2 separate regions of the Homo sapiens genome follow, and region 1 is linked to region 2. The links are contacts of gene promoters, found by promoter capture Hi-C in human tissues and cell types (Jung and others, 2019). All regions are on one chromosome and are shown on one strand. The core of a region is centred on a gene start or on the middle of the fragment in contact, and the rest is flanking DNA. Distances in the headings are between cores, read along the strand shown. Region 1 holds the start of ANKRD40 (ankyrin repeat domain 40). Region 2 holds the start of MRPL27 (mitochondrial ribosomal protein L27).

Evidence for each region. Contacts are between HindIII fragments. The study calls those that stand out against the background at their distance.
Region 1: a contact is called between the fragment with the promoter of ANKRD40 here and the fragment with the promoter of MRPL27 in region 2, in 1 of the 25 tissues and cell types used here (dorsolateral prefrontal cortex).

Annotation. Positions count from the first base shown.
Region 1 is chr17:50,705,319-50,709,266 of GRCh38, forward strand. ANKRD40 (ankyrin repeat domain 40) reads right to left here and starts at 2,596. Exons shown (of 5, transcript NM_052855.4): 1 at 2,203-2,596. The coding sequence starts at 2,336. RefSeq lists silencers at 1,932-2,201, 2,332-2,541. The HindIII fragment of the contact is 5,112 bases long and covers 1-3,228 here.
Region 2 is chr17:50,370,801-50,374,836 of GRCh38, forward strand. MRPL27 (mitochondrial ribosomal protein L27) reads right to left here and starts at 2,384. Exons shown (of 4, transcript NM_016504.3): 1 at 2,331-2,384. The coding sequence starts at 2,370. EME1 (essential meiotic structure-specific endonuclease 1) reads left to right here and starts at 2,429. Exons shown (of 9, transcript NM_152463.4): 1 at 2,429-2,477. RefSeq lists a silencer at 1-134 and enhancers at 1,918-2,387, 2,528-2,747. The HindIII fragment of the contact is 32,602 bases long and covers 1-4,036 here.

The DNA of each region.
Region 1 (3,948 bases), core at 1,346-3,845, 330 kb after region 2:
CACAACACCGCCTCCCAGTGCCAAAATGGTAATTCACAGCTTTGAACCAGAGGAATGCTGAGAAAAGGTTACATACACAACAGCAAGTTTGCAAAGACCTGTAAAAAAAAAAAAAAACAGAACAAAAAGGTAGTATCCACTGTTTCCTGGCCTTCTGGACAGCTGTCCAGGCTGTTTTCTTTAGGGAAATTAGGTAGAAAAAAATTTTTTTTTGAGACTGGGATCTCACTATGTTGCCCAGGCTGGTCTCAAACTTCTGGACTCCAGTGATCCTCCTGCCTTGGCCTCCCAAAGTGCTGGGATTACAGGCGTGAGCCACCAGGTCCTACCAGGAAGATAGACTTTTTTTTTTTTTTTTTTTGAGACAGAGTCTCGCTCTGCCACCAGCCTGGAGTGCAGTGGTGTGATCTTGGCTCATTTCAACCTCCAACTCCCTGGTTCAAGTGATTCTCCTGCTGCAGCATCCCAAGTAGCTGGGATGACAGGCACACACCGCTACCCCTGGCTAATTTTTGTATCTTTAGTAGAGACAGGGTTTCACCATGTTGGCCAGAATGGTCTCGAACTCCTGACATCGTGATCTGCCCACCTTGGCCTCCCAAAGTGCTGAGATTACAGGCGTCAGCCACCGCGCCAGGTCCAGGTAGGTAGACTTTTGAGGCAGTCTGGAAACCATGGTTCTGGTGCTATCATATTAATAGTTATGTGGCCTAGGGCAAGTTATTCTCTGTGGTTGAGCCTCTCTCCATTGTCCCTTTCAGTTCCAAAATGGATGATTCCACTTAAAAAAACAAAATGTAAACTCACTTTTTTTTTTTTTTGAGGTAGAGTCTTGCTCTGTCGCCCAGGCTGGAGTGCAGTGGTGCAATCTTGGCTTACTGCAACCTCCGCCTCCCAGGTTCAAGTGATTCTCCTGCCTCAGCCTCCCAAGTAGCTGAGACTACAGGCATGCACCACCACGCCCAGCTAATTTTTGTATTTTTAGTAGAGACGGGGTTTCATCATGTTGGCCAGGATGGTCTTGATCTCCTGACCTCGTGATCCGCCCACCTCAGCCTCCCAAAGTGCTACTCACTTTAACTCTAAGCTAGCAAAATAGTCTGGCTAAGCATTACCTGAATCAAAATTTTAAATTTTAAATGCAGAGAGCGGAATAATGCCACATTCAGTAACTTTCTGTTTTGACCACCAGCAACATCTTAAGATGAGACTCCTTATTTAATTGGGAAGAATTCAATCTGCAGGCAGACATCTAAAGTCTTGGGTGACATTCTGTATTTGAAATTGTAATAAGAAAACTGGCCAGGAACGGTAGGCTCACATCTGTAATCCCAGCACTTTTGGAGGCTGAGGCGGGTGGATCACTTGAGGCCAGGAGTTTGAGACCAACCTGGCCCCATCTCTACCAAAAATACCAAAAAAAAAAAAAAAAAAAATTAGCCGGGTGTGGGGGCGCGTGCCTGTATTCCCAGCTATTTGGGAGGCTGTGGCAGGAGGATCACCTGAGCCGGGGAGGTAGAAGTTGCAGTGAGCCGAGACTATGCCACTGCACTCCACCCTGGGCGACAGGGCAAGACCCTGTCTCAAAAAAAAAAAAAAAAAAAAAAAAAAAAAGAAAGAAAATAATCGATAGGATAAACAAATGAGTTTTCCCTCAAACAGGCAACTACAGGCAGCAGCAGCAAATCGGTTGCAGTGAAACAACAGAGAAGCAGAATGGTGATGCAAATGTGTTTTTTTTTCCTGGTCTTGGCTAAGGAAATCGTGCTAGTTTATAAAATTCATATTTGCTCAGTTGCTTATGCTTTTAGCTCTGCAAGATGCGTTCTCCAGAAGCACCTACGGCAAATTAACTCAACACTCGAATTGGGGTGAGCTCCAACGCATAGTCGCTGAGAATCACTGCCTCCAGCACCGCTCTGACCAAGTGAGCCGGGAGCGCGGGGGAAGGGGGTAGGGCACCAGAGTCCCAGTGGGCGCTGCCCCGAGTGGACCACGTGGGCCGGGATTTGGGCAGGACGCGCTCCCGACCGCACGAGGCATGGGGGCCAGGGCTGGCCTCAAGAGAGCACAATCTCGGAGGCCCGAGGTGGCAGGCCTCGCCGTAGCCAGGCGTCCCGCGCTGGGCCCAGGTCGCGACTGACTGCCCCACGCCTTCCGACCGGCTGCCCTGACCCTAGGCCTCCCCCGCTCCCCACTTACCAGCCGTTGACCTCATTTTGGGAGTTCACATCCACCCCGCTCTCCACCAGTTTCTGCACCTCCCGAATGTCCCCTAAGGCCGCGGCCTCCCGCAGCCTCTCCTGCTGCTCCTTCTGCTCTAGGAGGGCGTTCATCTTCCCACAGCCCCAGGCCCCCGCCCAGGCCCGCCTGCCCCGCCCCGCCCGGGGCCTGTCAGCGCCGCCGCCGTCGCCGCGGCCCGCTCCCGGCCATGGGGAGGGAGCGCGGAACTCGCCCGCCCTGCTCGCGCCGCTGCCCGCGCCCGCCCCGGGACTTCCGCTCCCTCCCGCGGGCCGCCCCTGCTGCTCCCGGCCCGCAGGCCCAGGCCTCCTCCCGGGCCGCGCCTCCCGAAGGCCGGCTCCGGGGGACCCTGTTCAGTGTGACAACGCTGACCCAGATATTTTCCGTTCCGACCCGGGGCTCCGGCGCCCGGGCTGGCTGTTTATGTAACTACTGCACAATATTATATGCCATGATTCATTGACTATTTTTAGACTTCCCCACCCCGCAGTTTCAAGGGAGGAGGACAAGACACATGAAAAGAGAAAAAAGCATAGCTGAGGGCCAGAAAAGCCTTATCCTCTGGTGCAGGCTGTTTACCAGGCATCCAAAATAATTGGTGGGTTCTTTTTATTGGGATTTGGGGTTTTTTTGTTATTTTCCCCCAGTTTGGTTGGCTCCTTTTCCTTATCTGAGCCAATTCGTGCCCAGCAGGATGGGGAAATGGGCTGAAAACGATCCTACTATAATACGCCCATTATTACAGAGATAGATTAGACTCTTCTTCTTTTTGACAGTGCTTGGGGACAATTCAGTTAGAATATTTATTTCAATTGTTGTTGTTTTACATCTCATTTTAGACAGGATTTCTTCTAACCTGGCTTTCAGGAAAAATATTTATATTGTGCTCACAGTTTATGAACTGTAATTACTGCTTACAGATTGTAATTAGTTACTCTTCATGAAGGCCATATAAGGAGAAAAGAAAGGAAAAACACCAAAGAGGCTTTGGAGGTGTCCTGGTCCTGATTCCAAGTGCTCTGGGAAGAGCTGTGGTGTACATGTAAACAGCATTTTGCTTCACTTCTTGCCCGATCTATCTAATGAGGCTCAGAGCCTCAGTTGGCACTGTTTTATACCCAGTGGGAGAAAAAGGAAATATTGTTTTGTTGAGCCCAGGTGCCCTGAAGAGATCCTCCGATGTGGCACAGGATGGAACTTTACAGATGGGGTCAAGATTAAGGAAATAGCCCTGGGGAGGAAGGGAGGAAGGCCTGAACAAGGAGAGATGAAATAGGAAGGGATAAATTTAGGCATGGAGTTTTCATTTCCGTCTCTTGGGGCTGCTGGGATCTGCACAGCAAGCATTTTTCTTGCTACAGTTTAAGAAAAACCAATGTCTGTTTGTTTAGTATGATACAGTAATTCACACAGTACACAGTGCACACCAGGTGGTGCTGAATATAAACTGACTACACACTTAAATTGACCCCCATGGCAAATTGTAACCCTGCTTGAGCTTACATTTTCATTTGTTCCCCCAATTTAAATTTTAATTCTCACATCCAGCATGATACTCTATCTGAAACTGATGTGTATGGCACTGGATTTGAGTCCTTCAACACAATTTCAGTGACATGGGAGTAGGTAGTGGCTTGTTGTTTTTGTTTGCTTGTTTTTGAGACAGAGTCTCACTCTGTTGCCCAGGCTGGTGTTCGGTGGGGCGAT
Region 2 (4,036 bases), core at 1,134-3,633:
TGGAAAAAAATAAACATCATGTGTTCTGGGTTCTGACACATTCAGTCTAAATGTGCTGAGGAGAAATGGACACCAGAGAGCTGCCTGCTTCAGAGGCTCACTCACCCTCATGCACCACGGAGGGGCCAGAACAGACTTGGGGAGCCCAGTACATCCAGAAAGGCTTCGGTTTCAGGCTCACCCACGACTTTCTTTCTTTTTTTTTTTTAAAGACGGAGCTTCACTCTTGTTGCCCAAGCTGGAGTGCAATGGCATAGTCCTGGCTCCCTGCAACCTCCGCGTCCCGGATTCAAGCGATTCTCCTGCCTCAGCCTCCCAAGTAGCTGGGATTACAGGTGTACGCCACCACGCCCAGCTAATTTTTCGTATTTTTAGTAGAAACGGGGTTTCACCATGTTAGCCAGGCTGGTCTCGAACTCCTGACCTCAGGTGATCCCAAAGTGTTGGGATTACAGGCCTCACCCATGACTTTCTCAGCTGTCCACTCATCCACTGCTCACCAAATACTAGTAAACCAAAAGGATGGCTGGCCTAAAAGTGGCTCCCACAGGGTCCTGGCCATTTCAGAAGGCTGGGCCCTTTCTTCTCAAAGCACATCAAGCAGAGGTCCAACCATGACCCACACACTGCCCTTGTTAATCTGACCTCTCCATACTCATTCCAAAGTGCTCAATAGCATTCATTTGCAGAAGTAAAATGAACTAAAATTCATACTAAGATGGTAGTCCCTTGCTGTATGACAAGCCTAGGGGTGCAACTCCTTGCCTGCAGGTCTCCAGACACAGCCATGATTTAAGGTCCATGCCAGTGTCTTTAGAGAAGCCTTGTGGGTCTCTGGAGCCTATAAGTTCAGAGTTCCTGAAGCCTGGGTTTCTGACATTTCCATGACACCAGAGACTAGCTGGGGCAAAGGACCAGAGATAAGGACTCAGAAAGACAACATGTTAAAACATGCCCGGCGCCAGGATCTACCTACCTTTAAACATCTATTCATTCATTTACATACTTACTAAGCTCAGGAGCTGGGCTTTTACTTTACTTACATTATCTCACTCACAAATCTTTGCTCTTCACCCTACTCCCCATCCTCCTCCTCAAAGTAAATGGTACCACCATTCATCCAGTTGCTTAGGCAGAAACCAGAGTCATTGCAGATTCCTTCTCTTTGCTGTCCTCACATATTGTTCACCAGCAAGCTCTGTGGATGCTAACTCCAAAACAGATCTCAAATTCATCCGTTTTCCTCCAAGTTCACTGCCACCACAAACATCTTGGCTAAATCATCTCTCCTCAGGGCTATTACGACTTTCCATTTGATTTCCTCATTTCCACTCCTATCCCCTTTAAATTTACATAAGAGCAATAGTTTGCTTCTCAAAATGTAAAACTGGCTCAAGTCACTCTCCTGTCCCTCACTCTACACAGGTCTAGGTCTCCTGTCATTCTTTTTTTTTTGGGGGGGGGGGATAGGGCCCCATTCTGTCACCCAGGCTGGAGTGCAGTGGTATGAACATAGCTCACTGCAACCTCGACCTCCCGAGCTCAGGTGATCCTCCCACCTCAGCCTCCTGAGTATCTGAGACCACAGGCAAGCGCCACTACACCCAGCTAATTTTTGTATTTTTTGTAGAGATGGGGTTTTGCCATGTTGCCCAGTCGGTCTTGAACTCCTGGGCTCAAGCGATCCGCCCACCTAGGCCTCCCAAAGTGTTGGGACTACAGGCGTGAGCCATCACGCCCCGCCTGTCATTCTTTAGGTTTTAAATGTTATCTCCTCAGAAGCCTTCCTTCACCGTCCAATCTAAAAAAAGACACACACACAGACACACATTATCCTTCTTCACAGCACTTGCCAGTCTACATCTACTTTATATGTTCATTTATTGCCTTATGCACCAGAGAGAACCGTTCGGGGGCTAGAAGCCAAGTCTTCACGTTTTCTGCTGATTTTCCGAACACCTACCGCCGTGTCTAGCACAAAGTAAGACCTCAATCTGCTGAATCAATAGATTAATTTTTTCAACCCCAATATGCCAATGTTACTAATACTTCTACAGAGAAAGGACCCACCCAAATCCCCAACCGCCAAGGAACCCGTCCGTGCTGCTGAGGCAGGAGAAAGACAAGTGCTCTTCAAACGCCCTCACTCACGGCTCCACCCAGGATGTGTCACGTGACCAGCGACACCGTCCCTCAAACCTGGAGTACCCCACACACTTCCCCTCGCATCCAAGGTCCTCCGCGGGGATCAGTGTCACCTCCTTCCCTCCCTGCTGGAGCTCCACTCTGCCTCCCCGCCTCACCCCGCTCTGACTACTGCGTCCCATTACCGGCTGTCCGGGTCCTCAGCGCCAACACCACCGACGCCATGCTTTCGATCACTCACTTCCGGTCTCGAAAAGTTTCTACTTCCGCTATCAGGAGATCTACTTCCGGGCCCTGCGTGGCAGTTGAAAGAGTGGCGGGAGAAGTTGCAGGTGAGCGTCCCCGGTCGCAGGCCTGCGGATTGGGCAGGGCTTCCCTCCTGAACACCGCTCTGCAGAATCTTGGTGGCTAAGGTGTCCAGGAGCCTCTGCAGCGGACCGCCAGCCTGAGAGGCGCAGAGCTTGTCGGGCAGGGGCCCGCTTGTCCCACTCCCCTGATTTGCAGATGTCAACGGAGGCCCAGCGAAGGGTCAGAGATGAGGCCCCCTCCCTAGTCATTCAACTTACTCTACTTAGCCAGCTGTGTGCCAGATGCTGTACTAAGCGCGGTGGATGCATTATTTTATTTAATTCTCACTACCTTATAAAATGGGTGCTGTTACCATCCCTGTTTTACTAAGGAAGAAACTGAGGCCTAGGCAGGTTACATGTCTCCTTCTGGGTCATACCTACAGTGTTAGTAAATGTTCAAGAAATGATTAGCTTTGCATATGACCCAGCAATTCTACTCCTAGGTATATACACGAAAGGGATTTGAAAACATACCCCCACAAAAACTTGTATGTCAGTGTTCATAGCAGCATTATTCATAACAGGCAAAAAAAGGAAACAAATTAAATGTCCAAGTGATGAATGGATAAACAAAATGTAGCATATCCATACAGTGGAATATTATTCAGTCATGAAAAGCAATTAACTACTGATACAGGCTACATCATAGATAAACCTTGAAAACAAGCTGAGTGAAAAAAGTCAATCACAAAAGGCCACATAGTGTATGATTCTATTTATATGAAATATCCAGAATAGGCAAATGCATAGAGACAGATTTATGGTTGCCAGGAGCTGGGGAGGGAGGGAAAGGACAGTGACGGCTTAATGGCTGCAGGAATTCTTTTTGAGGTGATAAAATAGTGATGATGGTTGCACAACATTGTGAATATACTAAAATCTACTGAATGTACACTTTTAAAAGGATATTATGCTGTGCAAATTATATCTCTATTTTTATTTTTATTTTATTTTTCTTTTGAAGCAGGGTCTCACTCTGTCACCCGGGCTGGAGTGCAGTCGTACAATCACAGCTCACTGCAGCCTTGACCTCCCAGGCTCAAGCAATCCTCCCACCTCAGCCTCCTGAGTATCTGGGACTACAGGTGTGAGCCACCATACCCAGCTAATTTTTGTATTTTTTTGTAGAGACGAGTTCTCACTATGTTGCCCAGGCTGTTCTCGAACTCCTGGGCTCAAGTGATCCTTCTGCTTTGGCCTCCCAAAGTGCTGGGATTATACGCATGAGCTACCATGCCCAGCCTATATCTCAATTTTTAAAAAGAACAGTTTTTGGCCAGGTGCAGTGGTTCACACCTGTAATCTCAGCACTTTGGGAGGCCAAGGCGGGCGGATCACTTGAGGTCAGGAGTTCAAGACTAGCCTGGCGAACATGATGAAAACGCATCTCTACTAAAAATACAAAAATTAGCCAGGTGTGGTGGTGGGGCGCCTGTAATCCCAGCTAGGCTGAGGCAGGAGAATCACTTGAACCTGGGAGTGAGGTTGCAGTGAGCCAAGATTGTGCCACTGCACTCCAACGTGGGTGCCAGAGTGAGACT